Linked DNA regions of Homo sapiens: all the other regions are linked to region 2. Evidence: promoter capture Hi-C in 16 types of primary human blood cells and fetal thymus (Javierre and others, 2016). All regions are on one chromosome and are shown on one strand. The core of a region is centred on a gene start or on the middle of the fragment in contact, and the rest is flanking DNA. Distances in the headings are between cores, read along the strand shown. Region 1 overlaps LANCL1 (LanC like glutathione S-transferase 1). Region 2 holds the start of IDH1 (isocitrate dehydrogenase (NADP(+)) 1). Region 3 overlaps NDUFS1 (NADH:ubiquinone oxidoreductase core subunit S1). Region 4 overlaps NDUFS1 (NADH:ubiquinone oxidoreductase core subunit S1).

Region 1 (5,946 bases), core at 1-2,500, 2.2 Mb before region 2:
CGCCGCCGCCGCCCTCGCAACTCGGCCGAGGCCCCTATCTCAACCTAGTTTCTGTTTTTCCCCTGTTCTGCAGGCTTGCTTCCGGCGTCATGGCTCAAAGGGCCTTCCCGAATCCTTATGCTGATTATAACAAATCCCTGGCCGAAGGCTACTTTGATGCTGCCGGGAGGGTGAGTTTAGGATATGTCTGCCTGCATCCCTGCCTCTCCCCACGGTGTTCGGAAAGGTGCTCATTTTTGCCTGAGAGAGTTGAGCATCCCCCTTTAAAAAAATACATGATTCGACGATAAATACGTAAATTATTTAAAAATACATGTTAATATATACAAATTGAGCTCTAACATAATGTTAAATGTGTCATTGTTAACATTATTAATTGAAATAAACTCAATTATTGATAGTATAAATTTTAAAAATTGGCAAATATGTAGTTTACTATGTAATTGGCATTTTTTAATGTATTTTGGTTTGCTTCTTAAAAAGAGGTGAAGAATCCTAACGGTATTCACATGTGCCGTGTTACTCCTTTGTGATTATACACAAGTGCGTTCAGGGTAATGATGAGAGCAAACGGTGGTGTATGGTAAGGACGTCTTTAAACTGTTAGTGCTTAGAGAATTTGGGGACCTAGGAAACCTGAAGTTCTTTGTACCGGTGTCACTCCACAGGGCATATCCACAGCTGGAAAACAAAAAAAAAGAAACTTGTAAATTAAACTGGTTAGCATGTCACAAATCACTGTGCAAAAGAGAACCTGGATGTAAAATACTAGGGGCCTGTGTTTTCTCATGCCTCATTGGGTGAACATAATTGTTAAGAGGGAATACAGATATTTTTAAGAATACCTACTTTTGGCTGGGTGCAGTGGCTCACACCATTAATCCCGACACTTTGGGAAATCAAGGCAGGAGGATTGCTTAAGGCCACGAGTTTGAGACCAGCCTGTGCAACACAGCAGGACCTTATCTCTACTAAAATTTTTTTAAAAATTAGCCAGGTGTGGTGGAAAGCTTGTAGTCCCAGCTACTTGGGAGGCTGAGGCGGGAGAATTGCTGGAGCCTAGGAGATTCGAGGCTGTAGTGAGCTATGATTGCACCACTGCACTCTAGCCTGGGTGACAGAGACCCTGTCTCTAAAAAATAAAAAAATAAAATTTAGTTTTGAAAATGAGTTAAGTTGGAAACAAGGCACACGCTTTAAAAATTTTACCAGTTTATTTCTTTGAAACTTGTCAGCCATACAAAAGACATTTTATGTGATATAAAGGCCTTACAGATTTCATCCCTGTCAAATTAATCTGTGGGTCTGATGGTTGTTTTTTTCCTTAAAACACTTGTCACATTATAGATTAACTTGGGTCAGTAATGCAGGTAGGAGGAATCAAAGAGATGAAGAAGAGGTGTAGGGTAGAAGGCTACCAAAATGTATATGGAGTTTGAGTCAATCTGATTATTTTAAGACTAGTATTAAGCTGCCCAAACAAAGCTTTTTATAATTATCTTCAGGTCAGATGGATTCCCTTTGGCCATTTGGGCCTGCATTCTGCTTAGCTGTGCAGATTCTCAAGCTGAAGTATGTGTCTTGTCTTGCGGGAGGAGGACTTGCTGCTTCATACTGACTTGGCAAAGAGAACAGTTGAGGATTGTCCTAGTGACAGAAACCTTCAATAAAATGTACCTATTTAGACTGCCTATAAAGTAAATGCTTTTTATGAATTTAACCCTTTATTTATTTATTTATTTATTTTTATTTTTATTTTTTTAGACGGAGTCTCACCCTGAGCCCAGGCTGGAGTGCAGAGGCACAGTCTTGGCTCACTGCAACTTCTGCCTCCCAGGCCCAAGTGACTCTCATGCCCCAGCCTCCTGAGTAGCTGGGATTACAGGTGCACACCACCGCACCTGGCTAATTTTTTTTTTTTTTTGTATTTTTAGTAGAGGCAGGGTTTCACCATGTTGGCCAGGCTGGTGTCGAACTCCTGACCTCAAGTGATCCACCCATCTCAGCCTCCCAAAGTGCCGGGATTACAGGTGTGAGCCACCATGTCGGGCCAAATTTAACCCTTTGTTTCTAAGGGGAAAAATTCACAAATTTAAACCCTGACCCAAGAGTAATAATGTAGTTTATTGCCTAACGTAGTTTTTGGACAGGTCCTAGAAAGGAAGTAGCATACCAGTTCTAAAATTGTGTAATGTTGAACACGGAGGATCAAACCCTGGAGATCTGTCCTCCTTAATTTCTTAACACAAGATTTCAGTAAGGAACTGGTCTGTTTTCTGGCATCTGTCAGAAAAAAATAGAAAAGAAAAAAGGACTTTTAGAGACTTCAGATTATAGCTAGAGTTTGAATGATTTGGTGGTGTACCACAAGCAATCAATATTCTCACAGAGGTCACCTTTATTAAATGCAGAATGTGCCAAACAGAAAGTAACTTCCCTTCATAAGGCTGAGAGATTCTCATTATTCTTGATCTCTTGAAGGCCAGGCAAGATGATAAATTATATATGATCTATATACAGTAGATGACGTGTTCTCAATATAGATGCACTCTTCTATCTAGCTGAGATTTATAGGCCTTTTGTATTAACATTGAAGTATATTTTATCCTACTAAATGTATTTTCAAGTCTAGTTGAAATCTTAACCTCTTTGCAGAAATTGTTAAATAATGGGAGTGTGTCTGTCAAACAACGTCGTTTCTTCTAAAGAGTGAAATAAGGGATCATAGTGGTGCTTTAGATTAAATAATCCAGATGTGGTTGAAAGTCTGATTTGCCTTATCAAGGATGCTCCTCCGAAGTGAATCTTAACGTATCCTTAAACTATTGTTGTTGTTGTTAATTCTGATACTGCCTTCTTGCTGTTTTCAGTGTTAAGATTTTATCTCATTTTTAAAAATGAGATTCTGATGTGAGTGGTTAGGTTTATTTCTACAATCCTTACATGGTAAAATAAAATGTTTATACCCTTGTAACTTTCCCCCACATTGTTCTGAAATTTTAATTACTATGTGAAATTCAAGTCTTAGAATCACAGCAAGTTCTTAAAATTATTGAGGGAGACAATAAAGTGAGTTTTTTGGGTTTTTGTTGTTGTTGTTGTTGTTGTTTGAGATGGAGTTTCGCTCTTGTTGCCCAGGCTGGAGTGCAGTGGCACGATCTCGGCTCACCACAACCTCCATCTCCCAGGTTCAAGGAATTCTCCTGCCTCAGGCTTCCGAATAGCTGGGATTACAGGCGTTCACCACCATGCCCGACTAATTTTGTATTTTTAGTAGAGATGGGGTTTCTCCATGTTGGTCAGACTGGTCTCGAACTCCTAACCTCAGGTTATCCGCCCACCTCGGCCTCCCAAAATGCTAGGATTACAGGCATTAGCCACTGTGCCCGGCCTTCAGTGACTTTTTAAGACACTGATTCAGTGTGTGCAGAAGTTTAAAATTATTTTTCATTTGCCTTTAAGAAGAATAACGTAATGATTGTGTGAGCCTCACTGTTTGCACAGCATCTGTGGACCTTCATATGGGTGGTACTAACCCCACAGCCCCAGCCTTAGTGTATTTTCAATCCATATCTAAACTATTACTTGCCTTAGACCCTTGATCTGCTAAAGAATTAGTAAAAATGTCAACATTTACATCCCTGAATGAGAAAGACTTGTGATACACTATCTCATTTAATCCCCAAAGTACCTTTTGAAATTGGCGTGGCAGTTATTATTATCCTGACTTTATGGAGGTATTTGAAACATAAAGAAGTTATGAGTTGAGCAAGATCAGCTAATAGCGGGTAAGGATGTAGACAGGCTCATTCATTGAGAAACATTTGTGAAGCCCGTATTCTCTGCCAGACACTGTGCTGGACGTGGGTTTATGATGCTAAGTTTGATATTCTTTCTATTCTGCTTAAGGCTCTTGATATACATGAATTTGTTTTGCTTTTCTTTGGCTACTTCATTTTTTTTAAATCCTTTTTTTTAAATAAGAGCAATTAGATGTTTCTTTAGGGAATTTACCTTGCTGCAGCTTGAATACTAAAAATCCAGTAGTTTGAAAGCACCAAACATCTGATTTGTGCTTAATTTAATAAAAAGACTTTATTATAATATTGGTTTAAATAATAGACGATTACTATTAGGTGGAAAATTACTGTGAGCCAGTTTATCATTGGCAGTCTGTTTTAGTATTTAACTAAAAATTTTATTTAAAACATGTATAAGTTACAACGGTATTTTATAAATTTTGTTAATGTGATGTTGTTGTTTAAGAATAGAAAATAAATTGTTTAGTCTTCCAGGTGGAAAAATATGTCCTAAGTGGAAAAGAAATACCTTTCTGTCTTTGATAGCTTATAGTCCAGCAAGCTGGGTGACCCACATTATTTTGATACTTGTTTTCCTTTAATATCTAGCTGACTCCTGAGTTCTCACAACGCTTGACCAATAAGATTCGGGAGCTTCTTCAGCAAATGGAGAGAGGCCTGAAATCAGCAGACCCTCGGGATGGCACCGGTTACACTGGCTGGGCAGGTATGAAGTGCTGACTGTGAGCTGGCATAAGCATTGTGCTTAAGAGCCAGAGCATTTTTCCGAGAGCTGTCTGTCTGAATGGTACACCCTTAAATGCTTCCTGCATCTGCATATGAGTAATTGCTTCTGGGAGAGTGCTGTGCCCTCAACCCAACCAACCATGGTATCTTCTGGGTTTTTAATAGTGCCCTGAATTTAGGGCATGGTAAGCATATTCATGTAATTCATGCCTGACATTTGGATGGCTGCTATACTTGTGAGGAGAAAAATTGATTTTCAATATTACATAGTTAATTTGCAGATGTAATTTCAGTGGGAAGAATTGGGAAGAGTTCCAAAATACAATGCCTGAAGCGGAGGTAATGAGGATTGATCTCAGGAATAAAATATGTCCAGAAGCATGTTTTAAAAAGTTAACCCGTAACAGGAATCCATACAGGAATCCATACAGGGTAAAGTATTACTTCCATGAACTAATCCTCCCATATGGTCATTGCTGTTTGGTTTGCAATTGCTGCATTGCCAATCTCAATCATTGAGAGGCTGGAGGAGGTTTAGGAAGAAACAGTGCATTGATGTCAAAAAAAGGTGAGAAAGAGAAAAATCAAAGAAGAGGCTGGGCGCAGTGGCTCACACCTGTAATCCCAGCACTTTGGGAGGCCGAGGCGGGTGGATCACGAGGTCAAGAGATCAAGACCATCCTGGCCAACACTGTGCAACCCCATCTTTACTAAAACTACAAAAATTAGCTGGGCATGGTGGCTCATACCTGTAGTCCCAGCTACTCAGGAGGCTGAGGCAGGAGAATCACTTGAACCTGGGAGGTGGAGATTGCAGTGAGATGAGATCACTCCACTGCACTCCAGCCTGGTGATGGAGCAAGACTCCATCTCAAAAAAAAAAAAAAAAAAAAAAATCAAAGAAGAAAAGTTGAAGAACTGCAATTAATTTACCAAATGTAGAGAAACAAAAGACAGCTGTGTAATCTGGAAGAAAGCATAGTCTAGAGACTCAGTGTTTCCCATTCGCTTTAAAGAGTGGGCAAGGAGGAATAAGCTTGCAATCCAGGGAATTTTAATTTGATTTTAAGGAGTGGAATTTGTCATAAAAATGGCCTCATAGCAGAGATTGTGATTCAGTAGATCTTGAGCAGAACCCAGGAATTTGCCTTTTATAGCCATCAGTGGTCCTGATGCAGATGGTGATCTACAGACTGCAGTTTGAAAGCTTTCTGAGAGAAATTTATTAATAATAGCAATCTCTTATTAGTCTTCCTCTTTAGTACAGGTTGAGCATCCCAAATCTGAAAATCTGAAATCCAAAATGCTCCAAAATTTGAAGCTTTTTAAGCTCTGATGTGACACTCAAAGGGAATGTTCATCGAGCATTTAGGATTACCGATGTTCAGATTTGGGATAC
Region 2 (5,388 bases), core at 1-2,500:
ACTTGAACCCAGGAGGCGGAAGTTGCAGTGAGCCGAGACTGCACCAGCCTGTCAGGGCAAGACTCTGTCTCATAAATAAATAAATAAATAAATAAATATTGGAGCATTAAATTCTGGGCAGCAATATACAAGCATGCTATTGTCCTACAAATCACAATATAAAATACTCTTTATTTTCATGTTTTTGAGAGCAATGAACACACAAAATATAATCTCTGGAGGAGACTAAAATTCTTTTTTCAATCCACCGTTTTCTAAGGCTTCACATCTCTAGTCCAACTTCATTGGATCACAGATAATCCCCCGCCAACTGAGCATGGTGGCTCACGCTTGTAATCCCAGGACTTTGGGAGGCCGAGGAGGGCCAATCACTTGAGTCCAGGAGTTCGAGACCAGCCTGGGCTGCTGAAACCCATCTCTACCAAAGGAAAAAGAAAAGAAAAGAAAGAAAGAAAAATTAGTTGAGTGTGATTGTGTGCACCTGTAATCCCAGCTACTCGGAAGGCTGAGGTGGGAGGATCTCTTGAGCCCAGGAAGTCAAGGCTGCAGTGAGCGGTGATCGCTCCACTGCACTCCAGCCAGGGCAACAGAGCAAGGCCCTGTCTTAAAAAAGAAAATAATAAGAATCCCATTCATTATCTTCTAATGCAAACAATCAATGGAGTTTCTAAAGACCTAGACATAGGTGGTGTCAGGACCTGCTTCTGTAACTTTTCCATCCTTTGCATTAGGCAGCGCGGAACCCCCTAGGCGACCCCGCGCTGGCCGGGAGCACTCTTTCTTCAGCCAAAGGTACGTTCCATTACCGCCCCTCGGGGGCGCGCTAGGCAGCGGGCCGGCCAAGCTGCCGCCGCCCAGGGCGCCCTGTCCCGTTCGCTTTTGTGCCGACCTGGAAACACTCTGTGGTGCTCTAGATTGTTACAAAGTTCGGGGTGGTGCAGCCCCAGCGCGCCCCGCTCCCCGGCCTGCAGGTGGCATACAAGTCTCTTCGCTGTCGGGATTCGGGACTGAATCTCTGCCGGGCGGCAACCCCTTCCCCCACCGGGATCACCGGGAAAGTGGCACCATGGATTCTCCATCTTTGACTGTGGCCACGCCCCTCTCGCTGACTCCGCCCATCCCACGGGAATTGGCGTGTGGCGATTGGAGGCGTGTCGGGGGCGGGGCTGGGGGAGGTGGGCTGAGGAGGCGGGGCCTGGGAGGGGACAAAGCCGGGAAGAGGAAAAGCTCGGACCTACCCTGTGGTCCCGGGTTTCTGCAGAGTCTACTTCAGAAGCGGAGGCACTGGGAGTCCGGTTTGGGATTGCCAGGCTGTGGTTGTGAGTCTGAGCTTGTGAGCGGCTGTGGCGCCCCAACTCTTCGCCAGCATATCATCCCGGCAGGTAACCTCAGGCTCCAAGGGGCGGCCCCGGTCCCTGGCTGTGGAGGGGTGGCTCTAATTCCGCAGAAGGCAGGAATGGGGTAAAGGAAAAAAGCGCAGATCTTGGGTGTGGAGGGAGTCAAGGCCTGCGTGCAAAGAAGGGAACAAATCCAGGTATTGAGAATGGGAAAAGAAAAGGGAAGGAGGGGATGCTGGATGCTTGGATATGCAGAAGGTCTGCTTTTGGGCCTGGGAGGGAGAAACTGGGCGGTGAGGAAGTTGGATGCAACGACAAGGGGAAAATCAGGTCTGCACTTGGGTTGGAAAATCGAGGGGTGGAAGTTGCAAGAATGCATGTAGAAGACTAAGCCTGGAGTGTAGGAGGAAGAAAACGTGCAGCAGCTGGGGGCTGGATGCAAAGAAGGCTGTAAGCCGCAGACGGGCGTCTGCAGGCAACTCAGGCGGCGAGGAATAGCCTTGAAGCCGATCCCTCGCGTCCGCCAGGGGGCGTGGAGGGGCGGAGCTCCAGCGGCCTTCAGAGGGGTCGCTAGGCCACACGGGGCGAGAGGGGGCTGGGGGAAACACCCCCGCCAGTTCCGGGTGCCTGGAGTTTAAAAGGTCCCAGCACCAGCGAGGGGAGGGGAGGGGAGGGGCGGGCGTGGAGACCTGGAAGGAGGTACCGATCCAGCCTTGATTGCAGCCCTCTTGCACAACGGCCATAAGGACGGGTGCAGGCCAAGAGCAAGGACATGCAAACCCCAAGACCTGCTAACGGGCGGCGAAGCGGGGGCACGCCCTCGCACACGCAGAGATAAATTGTGCTCCCATGACCTTTATTTGGAAAGTGCCTGCGGGCCTAAAATTGGCCTTTGTCCCACCGAGTACACTCAGCACTGTACTTTAAACCGGATAAACTGGGCTGTCTGGCAGGTACTAAAAACAGCTAAATTCTCCTGTGAGTGTTCTGTATGTTAACACTTTTATTCCTTGTTTTGTTTTAGGCGATAAACTACATTCAGTTGAGTCTGCAAGACTGGGAGGAACTGGGGTGATAAGAAATCTATTCACTGTCAAGGTGAGAATTAGCAAATTTTCCCCCTTCTTCTGTACTTTCTTTGATGTGGCAGTACAGTGTTTAACTGGTCTTGGGGGCAGGCCGAGGCACTGCAAGGGAATGAGTGAGGAATATTTCCAACAACGAATTCCAACAGCTTCCTTGTTTCTTTTAATACAGTGTCTTATCTGCAAGAGATCCTTTTTGCCCAGAAATTATTGTAGTTCATGAACTCGGCAAAAAACAATCTGGCCAAAAACTTGAGGTTGATGAAAATAATATTAAATGGCTCTTTTTTTTCATTAAACTACTCTGTATTGTTATTCCAGGTTTATTTTCTGGAATTGCACAATTATGTTAGGAGATAGGATTCAGCTACTTCATATGAGCTGGTGCCTGCTGGTCTTGGAACAGCCCTTCCTTCTGAAGTTGGGATTGGGTTGGAGACAAAATCTGAGGGGCAACAAAGGTGGAGAAGTCAGTCCAGTGGGGCCTCAAGCCCATCCCATGGAAATCAGATCCAGAAGAAATACAATTATGTTCCACATGGTAGTAACAATAAAGCTTCACTGTTTTAGTTAAAAGATGGTAAAAATTTCATGGCTAAGTAATGTGAGGAAAACCTGAAGCGTCTGAAGTATGCATTATGAGATAAAGAAAGATTACTGCAGAGAGTACAGTTGCTTTAACTGAGAAGGAAATAGTGAACTAAAAAGATATCAGTCTTCACATTTTAGGTACAATATTTGACCTCTATTAACTGTATTTGCCATCAAGAATAAATTGCCATGTCATGACTGTTGCATCATACTATATAGGGACATGGCCATGGAAGTGTATTATCAGGAACCAGATAAGTTCACTGCCTCCTTTTTTGCTTTGTTTTAAAACAAGGATAGGTGTGACAGTGGAATCAAACATGAACTGAATCATATGCTTTCAGCTGTACTACAAATTATACTTGACATTACAAATGGGAAGTAATTGACTCATCCACACCATTCTGTTCATTTCTTTTAGTCTAGTTCAGTTCCAGAAGGTTCCCCCAAAGGAATCTCCTAAACACTAGTAAGAAGAATTCTAGAATTGCGAATTTGGGAAGTGAAAATGGGCCTGGGGATTGGAAATACATCCAGGCTTGTCAAGAAACAGACGCTTACTGTCTACTAATCATTACATTTTTATTTAAAGACCAAATTACTTTAGCTCAATTTTTCAAGAAAGACTATTTTAGGCTTCTTATCTAATAATTCTTTAAAGTCAATTCTCTTGACTTTTTTAGTCCTTAAGAGAATAAAAGCAATTTGCAGCTGTGTTGTTGGATTAAAAAAGAGTTTCGATTAGAGCATCATTAGAAGGAATAGATAACTTTTAGCAGGCTCAGAGCTTCTTCTGCCTCTAGGGACAAGCTGGGACAGTTTCATTTCTTCCAAAGCGTCCAACCTTGCACTTTCTGAGAATCAGATTGATTTGTATATGCTACCCCCACACCCTATCCTTAAAGTGCTGTCTTCCTAGGACAATGCACAGTTTGTCCTATCCCACTCACTAGCAGCTTACCCTTGCCTGTGAACAGCCAGAAGAAGATGACAGGGACATGCTTGGGTCCTGGGCAGTGGCCCTACTGTATAGAGATTCTTCTAATTGAGAAATCACTTTGTTGTATTTAGCCCCACATCTCCAATGTCTGTGTTATCTCTAGGAAAACAGTTCCACCAGGAATTCTTCGTCTCGCTTTTAGACTTAAAGTTTCCCTGAATATGGGTCACAGGAACCAGCTGAATCTCCTCATGGCTAGTTATTTTTATTAAATAACAAAAACAGCCTCTTAAAGGAGGAGAAATGCTAGCACTCACCATTCTGGACATCTTGAGAGCCCAGTAAAATGATGAGTTGGACTGAAGTGTTCAATAAACATGAGATTGTGGAAATAATCTCATTTCTTAAGACAAACCAGTAGTTGAGAATAATGATTGCATTATGAAGGGCACGTTATAGGGTCAGGCTCTGCCACGCTCTAGCTAGGTGGCCTTGGGAAAGCTCTTTTTTTTTTAACAAAGTAAAATGGGGAAATGATGGCCATTTTTTTGGATTGTTATGAGGGCTAGCTCAGAAACCGCGTGTGAAACATAACACAATACTTTGTTCAGAGAAGATACTCAATTCTAATGGTAAATAGAATTGCTGTTACTAGCTTTTTATTCAACTACACATAAATTGAATTGCATGAATTGTTCTTTTAGTAGTCACTACGTTGTTTATATAAACACTACGTTGTTTATATATTTCACTTTATAATGAAATAAATGACAAGGCATGTATTTTTTTTTTCTTTTTAGGTTTATTGAAGTCAAAATGTCCAAAAAAATCAGTGGCGGTTCTGTGGTAGAGATGCAAGGAGATGAAATGACACGAATCATTTGGGAATTGATTAAAGAGAAACTCATTTTTCCCTACGTGGAATTGGATCTACATAGGTAAATGAGTTACCCCTCCGTGTAGCAAACTCAGAAAGGATAATCTGGCTGGGCATGGTGGTGCACACGTGAAGTCCCAGCTACTTAGGAGGCAGAGGCAGGAGGATCCCTCAAGACCAGGAATTCAAGTCCAGCCTGGGCAACAGAGTGAGACCCCATCACTTTAAAAAAAAAAGGAAAAAAAAGGGAAGGAGAAACAGGAAAAAAAAAAAGAATATAATCTGAATTATTTTGAGGTGAAGTTAGCTTTTTTTATATAGATATAGCTGTGTTTTGTGAATAAAGTTTGTTTTAAGCCTAAATATATTCAGATGAATCTTCTAATTTTAACATACTGCTAGAAAAACTGGATTTATCATCTAAAAGTCAAGAATTATAAGGGAAAGAATGATTTTCAGATTCTTCTAACCTTCTGTTTCCTGTGAAGGTTTTATTTGTAATAAAACAGTGGCTAAGAATAGTACAATGTATTGAGAAAAGGGAAATAAGAGAGGATG
Region 3 (5,233 bases), core at 1,629-4,128, 2.1 Mb after region 2:
TGTGCTCACCTTTAAAAATATACTCATTTCTTTTTAGTGTTTGGAAAATCATCTCTTTGTGATCATGAATAAGAAAGGAAATAATTTTGCTGGACTTGACCATTGATGACACATTTTTTATCTTGTAGGTTTGCAAGTGAGATTGCAGGAGTAGATGATTTGGGAACAACAGGCAGAGGAAATGATATGCAAGTTGGCACATACATTGAAAAGATGTTCATGTCTGAACTGTCTGGGAATATCATTGATATCTGCCCTGTAGGTGCCCTAACCTCTAAGCCCTATGCCTTTACTGCCCGGCCTTGGGAAACAAGGTATCTTTTATTTTATGACAATTTGTTTTTTTGTCCTTAATTCATTACTATTCAAAAAAATATTAAGGTTCATTTTCTTCCTGGGTTTCAGTTGTTTTGGTCTGTTGACTTTGTTTGTTTATGTAAAACCCTTTAAATAGAAGGTAAGTAGTTAGAATGGATTGAACCTGTGCAAATTAACTGTAGTTTTCTTGGAAATTAATTCTAAAGTACTCAACCACAAAATTATTTTTTTCATGTGTTCTTCCAAAGAGTTTAATAGTGTTGACATTTTAAATGTATAGTCTCCCATGTTGTTGTTTATTAAGTTTTCAACTATGAGGAATGTCATTTAGCCAGTTTCTGCTAATAGACATTTAGCTTGTATATTTCTTTATGATTACAAATCTGTAAAAAATATTGCTGTTTACACATTTCTGTGTATATCTCTCATTCTCCTGATTAAACCAAGAAATGGAGTAGATAGATGCAAGAGGTGTGATTATTTTTAAGGTTCTTAAAACATAACAAATTATCATCCAATTTTAAACTTTATACTTTTCAACTTGGGATTTGGCTTTTTGTTTCTGTGTAATTTCTGTGTCCTTACTGAGAATCTCTACTTGCTGATTCGTGGTTGTCATACATCCCCTTCAATTTTTAAATATGATTTTCTTTGGTTCTTTCAACATATTTTAATATTCTTGGTTTTATTTTTAAGTGAGGCTTCTTAGGAGTTCCCCTGTGTCTGCATAGTTTAGTAGTCAGGTATAATTGTACTTCAAACACCGTGACCTAATAAGAGTTATGTTCTTTGCCAATGGATCTGTTTGTGGATGGAGGAGCATATTCAAAGTTGAGGCTGTTTTCAAGTTTGCCCAGCTATTACTTTGCACTGGGCCCTTTGGGTCTCAGAGTTATCCAGGAGTTTATGAATAGGTTGAGCTTTCTCTGGTTTCACCTGCACATGTAGCAGCCTCTGTTAGGAATGCTTGCCGCAATTACCACTACAAACTTAGGCTGGTAAAATCTTGGCTATCCTCAGCTACGATGACCTCCAAAGTATCACCTCCACAAACAAGTTTGCCTCGTGCTCCAAGTTAAGTGAGTTGTCTCCATCTGTACCAAAGAAGTTCTCATCTTCACAGCCTGCCCCGGCCTCGAAGAAATTCCATTTTGAGGGGGTGGAGAGGAGCATAGGAGGAGCACTGAGCCCAGCCACCAGTTTTTCAGTGCATAAAAGCTTCCCACATTGTATGTGTTTAGATTTCTAAACTGCTGAAATGGTGGGTTTTGTCATTTTTGGCCAGCTTTACTTTTGCTTTTCAGTGGGAAGGTTTTTTGAGCTCCTTAATCTCCCATAGACAGAAATCCTGCCCCTCTTGTTGAATCGTCCCAGATTTGGCTAGTTGGAGCCCCTTCAAACTAGCTTCTGTGTCAGATAATAGTTTTAAAGCCTTCCTTACTGTGCCAGGAATTTATGTGTTCAAATGTGGGTGTGCCGGGAGCAGTGGCTCACACCTATAATCCCAGCTTTTAGGAGGCCAAGGTGGGAGGATTGCTTGAGACCAGTAGTTCAAGACCAGCCTGGTCAGCATAATGAGACACCGGCTCTACAAAAAATTTTTAAAATGTGGTGAGAGGATAGTTTGAGCCCAGGAGTTCTAGGCTGCAGTGAATTATGATCATGCCACTGTAGCCTGGGCAACAGAGTGAGACCCCAGGGCAAAAAAAAAGGTGGGGGGTTCTTTTATTTAATTGCAGTTCCTCTAAGCTTCATTTTTTAAAGTAATTCAGAAAGGGAATTAATTGTAAAAAAAATTTTTTGGTAAACCAGGTAACAGAAACTTTCTTTATTCCCAAAAGCACCATAGTAAACACCGTATGTGTTTCTCAGAAAGACAGAATCCATTGATGTAATGGATGCGGTTGGAAGTAATATTGTGGTTAGCACAAGAACTGGAGAAGTGATGAGGATTTTGCCACGTATGCATGAGGACATCAATGAAGAGTGGATCTCTGATAAAACCAGGTATATGCTATATTGTTTTCCTTAACTTTTACAGTTTATTTAAAGGAAATTTTATAATAATTTTGAAGAATTATCTTTTATATTTGCAAATTAGTTACTGAATATAGACTACTGGAATCTGAGTTGCTTATATAATGTGATAATACTGACTTTAATAGTCCTAGGTCAATCCCTGGATATTGTATTTACTTTGAGAAAGATATTTTTTCCTCCCACATGGAGAAATTCAAGTAGATTGATACATTCTCAACTTATTTCAGTTTGTTCATTAGAGAAAAGAAGCTAGGCTGGGCGCAGTGACTCACACCTGTAATCCCAGCACTTTGGAAGGCCGAGGTGGGATGATTGCTTGAAAAAGAAGCTGAATAGAAGAGTTTGCACAATATAATTTTGATAAAATATTTAGAGATACTCATGCTTTGTAAATAAAAATGATTTGACTTTTTTAGCTGTCAGATTTTTTTGTGTTGTAATTTTAAGATTGTTCAGTTAGCTGAAAGTATAAGAAATCAAACTTTTTTTTGTATGATTTAAGGGAAGAAATCAAACTTTCAGATGGTATTTTAGTTTTAGGTGAAGTTCATAAAATCTATTAGTTCATCTCTAAAAATATCTGGAATAATTACTTGTATCTAGGTGTTTAGATATTTGACACTTTAACCAGTACTGTATTTAAATAACATTTCTTGTTGATTTAACTTGAAAATTATAGTTACTTCTTTAGCAAGATTCCACAATGGTGTAATTTCTGTTTTCTAGATTTGCCTATGATGGGCTAAAACGTCAAAGACTTACCGAGCCAATGGTCAGAAATGAAAAAGGGCTTTTAACCTATACTTCTTGGGAGGATGCGCTCTCTCGCGTAGCTGGAATGGTAAAATTTGAAATAAATAGTGTTAAATAGTGTTTGTGATTATCAAGAAACATCTTTGCCATGAAGGGGGGGATGTATATTTCTTCCCTTTTTTACTTTTACCAAGATTATGATTTAATCTCCTTCCATTTTACAGACATCTACTGAGGACATATGCTAGATATTATGCTATTAAGGGATATAAAGACCAGAGACACATCATTCCTGCATCCTACAATCTTGTAGTAGAGAAAGTTGCACAATTCAGCAATTATTATATGCAGCTATGAGTAATTATATAAGGAGTAATATGAGTGAGAGCACGTAGGAGGAATGCCTAACTAGGACAGGCATATCAAGATGCCTTCCTTGGAGGTTGCAGTGAGCCGAGATCGCACCACTGCACTCCAGTCTGGGTGACACAGCGAGACTCCATCTCAAAAAAAAAAAAAGCTGCCTTCCTACAGAAGGTGATTCTTAAAGAAGAATCTGAGAATGAATATAAGCTTGCCAGAGTACAAGTGGAGGGAATAGTTTTCTTGTTAGAGAAAGACAACATAAAGCACTAGAGGGAAAGGCAGATACTTCAGAGGAGGTCGCATTTAAGGTAACTATAGTTCCACTTCATTCTCCAGACCTCATTTTGAAGTGCCTTTGTTCCTAAATATAAAACAGCTTCCTTCTAAGTTGATGTTATTAGCTGTGGCCCCACATAACACCTCTGCAGCTTTTCACTTTTAGATTAATTAATAATTGTTGTACAACTTTTTTTGTGTTTTTGAGATGGAGTTTTGCTGTTGTCGCCCAGGCTGGAGTGCGGTGGCGCGATCTCGATCTCGGGTCACTGCAGCCTCTGCCTCCTTGGTTCAAGCAGTTCTCCTGCCTCATCCTCCCGAGCAGCTGGGGATACAGGCGTATGCCACCATGCCCAGCTGATTTTTGTATTATTAGTAGAGATGGGATTTCACCATGTTGGCTAGGCTGGTCTTAAAGTCCTGACTGCAGGTGATCCGCCCACTTCTGCCTCCCAAAGTACTGGGATTACAGGCATGAGCCAGTGTGCCTGGGCATGTTGTAAAACTTTTAATCAGAAGTCTGTTAACTTTTTTTGTACTTGAAAACAAGTACTGTTTTATTTTCTGAACATTTCATTGTGGTCTTTGCTGCGTGTAGGTTTCTTGGTGATGCCCTTTTCATCTGTTTCTAGTTGCAGAGTTTTCAAGGCAAAGATGTGGCAGCAATTGCAGGTGGCTTGGTGGATGCTGAAGCCCTGGTAGCTCTCAAAGATTTGCTTAATAGAGTGGACTCTGACACCTTATGCACTGAAGAGGTCTTCCCCACTGCAGGAGCTGGGTGAGAAATATGAAGCTAGGATCTAGGCTTTCCTTTCTTTTTTTAGTTACAAGTTATGTATAAAATGTGACAACCTGGATTCTCCAACATATCCCCCAGTTTATTTTCATATATAGACCAAGATCAAACCAGAAGTTGTAGGAAATAGAGGAATCCACTTATCACTAAGTATCTCAGGCACAGTGGCTCACGCCTGTAATCCCAGCACTCTGGGAGGCCAAGGCAGGCAGATCGCCTAAGTGCAGGAGTTTGAGACCAGCCTGGCCAACATGGCGAAACCCCGTCTCTACTAAAAATACAAAAAAATTAGCCAGACGTGGTGGTGTGCGCCTGTAATTCCAGCTACTTGGGAGGCTGAGGCAGGAGAATTGCTTGAACCTGGGAGGTGGAGGTTGCAGTGAGCCAGGATCACGCCACTGCATTCCAGCGTGGGAGACAGAGTGAGACTCTATCTGAGAAAAAAAATAAGTATCTGAAATGTTCATTTAATTTAGAAATACTTCATAAAATTTTTTGTTTGAGAAGGCAATGGGTTTGATGATAGGAGAATATTTCATGGATTCTCTGTATGTCTTAATTTTAAAGTAAATTTGCATTTTATATATTGTATTTCTAGCACAGATTTGCGTTCCAATTATCTTCTTAATACTACAATTGCTGGTGTGGAAGAGGCAGATGTTGTTCTTCTGGTTGGTACAAACC
Region 4 (5,646 bases), core at 1,648-4,147, 2.1 Mb after region 2:
TTATATTAATTAACTATTGTTATTTATATGTAATTATTACTGTTTACATGTACGTGTGTGTGTGTGTGTGTGTGTATAATTTTTGAGATGAGATTTTACTCTGTCACCCAGGCTGAAGTGCAGTGGCACAATCTTGGCTTGCTGCAACCTCTGCCTCCTGAGCTGAAGTGATCCTCCCACCTCAGCCTCCTCGGTAGCTAGGACTATAGGCGCATACCACCACATCCAGCTAATTTTTGTATTTTTTGTAGAGATGGGGTTTCGCCATGTTACCCAGGCAGATCTCAAACTCCTGGACTCAAGCAGTCCACCCACCTCAGCCTCCCAAAGTGCTGGGACTACAGATGTGAGCCACCACCCCTGGCCTATATATTTTTTAGTGAAACAGAAGGTGAGATTAGGCCTGGTGCAGTGGCTCATGCCTGTAATTCCAGCATTTTGGGAGGCTGAGGGGGGCAGATGGCTTGAATCCAGGAGTTTCAGACCAGCCTGGGCAACATAGTCAGATCTGGTCTCTTTAAAAAAAAAAAAGTGAGATTATTCACTTGGGGGTTGATAGCTTTATTGAAATATAATTCATGTACCCTAAAATTTACTCATGAAGTGGACAATTCAATGTATTTTAGTACATATGCTGTTTTGTAACCTTTTTCAATAATAGTATTGTACACATTTTTCCTATATTTATTTATTTATTTATTTTTTTGAGACAAGAGTCTTGCTCTGTCGCCCAGGCTAGATTGCAGTGGTGTGATCTCGGCTCACTGCAAGCTCCGCCTCCTAGGTTCACACGATTCTCCTGCCTCAGACTCCCGAGTAGCTGGGACTACAGGCATATGCCACAACACCTGGCTAATTTTTTGTATTTTTAGTAGAGATGGGGTTTCACTGTGTTAGCCAGGATGGTCTCAATCTCCTGACCTCGTGATCCACCTGCCTCGGCCTCCCAAAGTGCTGGGATTACAGGTGTGAGCCACCGCGCCTGGCCTTTCCTATGTTTTTAATACTTTTCTATAATTTTTTAATGGCTGCATACTGGTGCACTGTCTAGCTGCTCTATAGTTATTTGATTGTTTCCAGGGATAGTTATTGAAAGCATGTGGCCAGTAAGGGGTTTATCGTTGGAATCTGTTGGTTACATATAATTATATATACTTGCATAGGGCCTTATAATCTTTTTTCCTCCTGAATATGTGCACCATTAAAGTTTTAGTATGTGCTTTTTAAAAAGTTGTATTATCAAAATGACATTTTCTTAATATCTTTCAGATTCAATTAGCAGAGCCTCACAGACAATGGCCAAATGTGTCAAAGCTGTCACAGAGGGTGCCCAGGCAGTAGAGGAACCATCCATATGCTGAAGCTTCTACTAGGATCCCAGTTTTGCCGCAGATAATTAATGGACAACTGTAGTGCAGTGATCCTTTACAGGTTTATTTCTTTGTAAAAAAAAATAATAATAATTTGAATCATGTAATATTTAAGGTTATACTATGCCTATTTGAAAATGATATTAGTTATCAACTTTGCAGTTTGAAAAACATGTATTGTGTGTAAAGGTTAAATAACAAAACTATGCAGATGCTCTTAAAAGCATTGATAACCTTTGTGACGAACATAAAGAGATCCTTAAATTATGAGTTGTTGGCTTATCTTCATAAATAATTTGTCTGTAAAATGGATGAAATGAAAAGAGGTTCAATTAAAACCTACTTTTTTCTAGTGCTAAAGAAAAGATTTAAGCACCTTGTCAAGCTGGGTAAATAGGAAAAATACATAATCATGCTCAGATATGTATCTAGGATAATTATAATTAATAATAATCATAGTAACAATGGCTAATGATAATTTAGCTTTATTATATGTGCTAAGCACTCTGGTTTTACATGCATTATCTTCTTTTGTTCTTGCTACAACCCTGTGAGATAGTAGTATTATCTCATTTTACTGATGAAGACTGAAGCCTAGGTATATTAAATAGCTTGCCCAAGGCCACACAGCAAAAGTCACCAACTCAAACCTACTTCTTATTTACTCCAAAGCCTGTTGTTCTTAACTGCAACATATTATTTCGTCTCATTAATGTTGATTCTATAGGTTGTTACTTCTAAAAATTAGTATTGAGTTTAATGGTGAACACATTTTTCTATTTTCTCTTGAATCTGCTTCTATAATGTCATGGTGATTTATGTGGCTTTTTTTTTTTTATAAGTTATACATGTATGCATGTATACTTATGAGACCTCCCTTGGAATGAGGGAGGTCTCAAGAGATATAATTTAGATTCTCATTGATGTTCTGTATTCATTATCCTAACACCATCTGTAGTGTTAAATCAACTAAATTATTTCAGCAATAGGAGACAAAACAACCAGCTTTCATAATTTTTAATTGTCAAAACCAAAAGGAATCAGAATAAGGATCACTGAGAATTTAAAAAAATAAAAAAGGAAGTAAAAATTTTACAATTAGGAGATAATTAAAAATAGATAATTTTTTTTTTTAATCTAAGGTTGGGTGTGGTGGCTTACACCTGTAATCCCAACACTTGGGGGGCCAAGGTGGGTGGATCGCTTGAGCCCAGGCAGTTGGAGACCAGTCTGGGCAACATGGTGAAACCCCATCTCTACAAAAAATACAAAAATTAGCTGGGTGTGGTGGTGTACACCTATAGTCCCAGCTACTCGGAAGGCTGAGGTGGGAGGATCACCTGACCCAGGAGGTTGAGGCTGCAGTGAGCCGTGATTGCGCCACTGCATTCCAGCCTGGGCAACAGAGCAAGACTTTGTTTCAAACAAACAAACAAAACTATGTTCACAATTTATTTGTTTTGTAATCCTTATTCTTTTCTGCTTTCACTAAAGACTCAGCCCAAGTATAGGATGCCCTTTTTCCCTTTGTTTTTTTTTTTTTTTTGAGATGGAGTCTTACTCTGTCACCCAAGGCTGGAATGCAGTGGCATGATCTTGGCTCACTGCAATCACCACCTCCCTGATTCAAGCGATTCTCCTGCCTCAGCCTCCCCGGTAGCTGGGATTACAAGCGCACGCCACCACACCTGGCTAATTTTTGTATTTTTAGTAGAGACAGGGTTTCACCAATTTGGCCAGGCTGGTCTTGAACTCCTAACCTCAGGTGATCTACCTGCCTTGGCCTCCCAAAGTGCTGGGATTACAGGCGTGAGCCACCGCGCCCAGTCTAGGATGTCGTTTTTCTGATACAACAAAGGATAAGGTTTTAGAATAATAGTATGTTACAATATCTTTAAAAACAGCAGGTGCAGTGGCTCACACCTGTAAGCCCAGCATTTTGGGGGTTCAAGGCAGGAAGATCAGTTGAGGCCAGGAGTTCAAGACCAGCCTGGACTGCATAGCAAGATCCTATTTGTACAAAAAAATGTAAAACTTAAAATTGCACAAAATTTGTCACCTGTACCAGCTTTTAGAACTGTTTATCTTATCCTCCTCAGTGATACATCATGAAGTTGTGTGCTTTGCCTAAAATGCCCAGTTACCTGAAATTGTATAAATTCTTGCCAAAAGTGTTTGAACTTAATACAAACTTCCCATCTCTTACCTCTTAGCACTGTGCTCATCTTGAGGGGACATAGTCCCAATTTTGTATTTTATATAATACTGTTAATGAATATGTGTAGACTTCATATGGTTGTGGGTAAGAGAATACTGCATTCAGATAGAAAAGATGCTATATAGCTAAGTTGATCCAGGATCCTTGGGCTACCTGCTAGGCAGCTTGTGGTGAACAATCATAATCTCTAAAAAATACCTTGTCTGGACCGGGCGCGGTGGCTCACACCTGTAATCCCAGCACTTTGGCAGGCTGAGGCGGGCAGATCATTGAGGTCAGGAGTTTGAGACCAGCCTGGCCAACGTGGTGAAACCCTGTCTCTACTAAAAATACAAAAATTAGCCAGGCATGGTGGCACATGGCTGTAATCCCAGCTACTGGGGAGGCTGAAGCAGGAAAATCGCTTGAACTGAGAGTCAAGGCGGAGGTCGCGGTAAGCCGAGATCACACCATTGCACTGCAGCCTGGGTGAAGAAACAAGCCTCCCTCTCAAAAAATAAATAAATAAATAAATAATACCTCCTCTGGGATAAGTAGTGCTCCGTCTGTCTCATGGGCACATATTAGTGTCGTAATGCCAAATACTAAGGTTATTGTAAGCATAAACATTGAAGATAATTGCTAGAGAAAAATAGACTGAAAAAGATGTAAGAAAAATACACGTAGATGAGAGTAACCTGTCTGGTGGAATCATGACATTCTAAGCAGTGAAGGAATCACCAATGAGAAAATCTACAAAGGCTCAAGATCAAGTCTCTTTAGGTGAATAAGGCAATCTAGAAAGACCTTGGAATAATAATACCATTTCCTGAGGACCTTCTAAATAAGTGCCATTAAAGCTTTAAATACATTAAGACTATTCTTCACAAAATCTCTGCTAATAGTAGGTATTAATTGAGACTCAAGAAATATCAAATAACTTATTTATGGCTACACAGCTAGATACTAATGGCAGGAGTGTTTAATTAGAAGTACTTTTACTATCCCAGGTTGCCTCAAATGAAAACATTTTGGACAGCAATGTAAGGTGAATAGCTGAGCATGATGGCACAAGCTATAGCCCCAGCTACTTGGGAGGCTGAGGCACAAGGATTGCTTGAGCAAATGAGTTGAGTCCAGCATGGACAACTGTATTCCTGCAGCCTGCTTGTATTCCTCTCCTCAAAGTGCTTTTTCCTTCTCTGCCACATGACTAGTCTGTGAATTTTCCAAACTTCTACGCTCTGCTTCCCTTTTAAATATGTTCCAACTTTAAGTTATTTCTTTGCTTCCATATCTGATTGTAGGCTGCTAGCATCAGCCAGGCCACATCTTGAATGCTTTGCTGCTTAGAAATTTCTTCTGCCAGATACCCTGATACCCTAAGTCATCACTCTTAAGTTCAAACTTCCACAGATTCCTAGGGCCTGGACACAATGCACCCAAGCTATTTGCTAAAGCATGACATAGATGTACCTTTATTCCTGTTCCCAATAACTTCCTCATTTCCATCTGAGACCTCATCACTCTGGACTTCACCATATGTCTATCAGCATTTTGGTCACAACCACTTAACTAGTCTCTAAGTTCCAAACTTTCCCTCATCTTTCTGTCTTCTGAGCCCTCCAGATTCTTCCAACCTCTGCCTGTTACCCAGTTCCAAAGCTGTTTCTACATTTTCCAATATGTATAGCAGTGCCCCACTGTCAGTACTAATCTGTTTTAATCTGTTTGCATTACTGTAAAGGAATATCTGAGATTGGGTAATTCTTGCAAAAGAGAGATTTAATTGGCTTACAGTTTCTGCAGGCTGTACACAAAGCATGGCACCAGCAGCTGCTTCTGATGAGGGCCTCAGGAAGCTTACAATCATGGTAGAAGGCAAAATGGGAGCGAGCATATCACATGGTGAGAGAGGGAGCAAGAGAGAGGAGGAGGTCCCAGACTCTAAACAACCAAATTTCACATGAACTAAGATCTCACTCATCACCAAGGTGATGGTGCCAAGCCATTCATGAAGGATTTGCCCCATGATTCTATACCTCCCACGAGGCCCTACCTCCAGCATTGGGGGTTACA

What was found. Contacts are between HindIII fragments. The CHiCAGO score rates a contact against its expected background, and 5 or more counts as called.
Region 1: a fragment that was not itself captured here is called in contact with the fragment with the promoter of IDH1 in region 2 in 1 of 17 cell types (total CD8 T cells); the score reaches 5.9 in total CD8 T cells.
Region 3: a contact is called between a fragment that was not itself captured here and the fragment with the promoter of IDH1 in region 2, in 1 of 17 cell types (neutrophils). The highest score is 5.3, in neutrophils.
Region 4: a fragment that was not itself captured here is called in contact with the fragment with the promoter of IDH1 in region 2 in 1 of 17 cell types (neutrophils); the score reaches 5.3 in neutrophils.

Annotation. Positions count from the first base shown.
Region 1 is chr2:210,470,540-210,476,485 of GRCh38, reverse strand. It overlaps LANCL1 (LanC like glutathione S-transferase 1), which reads left to right. Exons shown (of 10, transcript NM_006055.3): 2 at 74-170; 3 at 4,410-4,527. The coding sequence starts at 90. Among named protein-coding and RNA genes, the nearest start is that of LANCL1, 3.2 kb to the left of the region's middle. The HindIII fragment of the contact is 475 bases long and covers 1,013-1,487 here.
Region 2 is chr2:208,250,933-208,256,320 of GRCh38, reverse strand. It overlaps IDH1 (isocitrate dehydrogenase (NADP(+)) 1), which reads left to right and starts at 1,250. Exons shown (of 10, transcript NM_005896.4): 1 at 1,250-1,382; 2 at 2,362-2,435; 3 at 4,754-4,891. The coding sequence starts at 4,770. It overlaps IDH1-AS1 (IDH1 antisense RNA 1), which reads right to left and starts at 1,088. Exons shown (of 2, transcript NR_046452.1): 1 at 890-1,088; 2 at 127-418. RefSeq lists an enhancer at 1,016-1,542 and a silencer at 1,996-2,105. The HindIII fragment of the contact is 4,060 bases long and covers 1-2,980 here.
Region 3 is chr2:206,141,984-206,147,216 of GRCh38, reverse strand. NDUFS1 (NADH:ubiquinone oxidoreductase core subunit S1) reads left to right here. Exons shown (of 19, transcript NM_005006.7): 8 at 129-314; 9 at 2,191-2,325; 10 at 3,085-3,199; 11 at 4,386-4,531; 12 at 5,148-5,233. Among named protein-coding and RNA genes, the nearest start is that of NDUFS1, 15 kb to the left of the region's middle. The HindIII fragment of the contact is 1,617 bases long and covers 2,070-3,686 here.
Region 4 is chr2:206,119,900-206,125,545 of GRCh38, reverse strand. NDUFS1 (NADH:ubiquinone oxidoreductase core subunit S1) reads left to right here. Exons shown (of 19, transcript NM_005006.7): 19 at 1,270-5,646. The coding sequence ends at 1,361. Among named protein-coding and RNA genes, the nearest start is that of INO80D, 37 kb to the right of the region's middle. The HindIII fragment of the contact is 3,064 bases long and covers 1,366-4,429 here.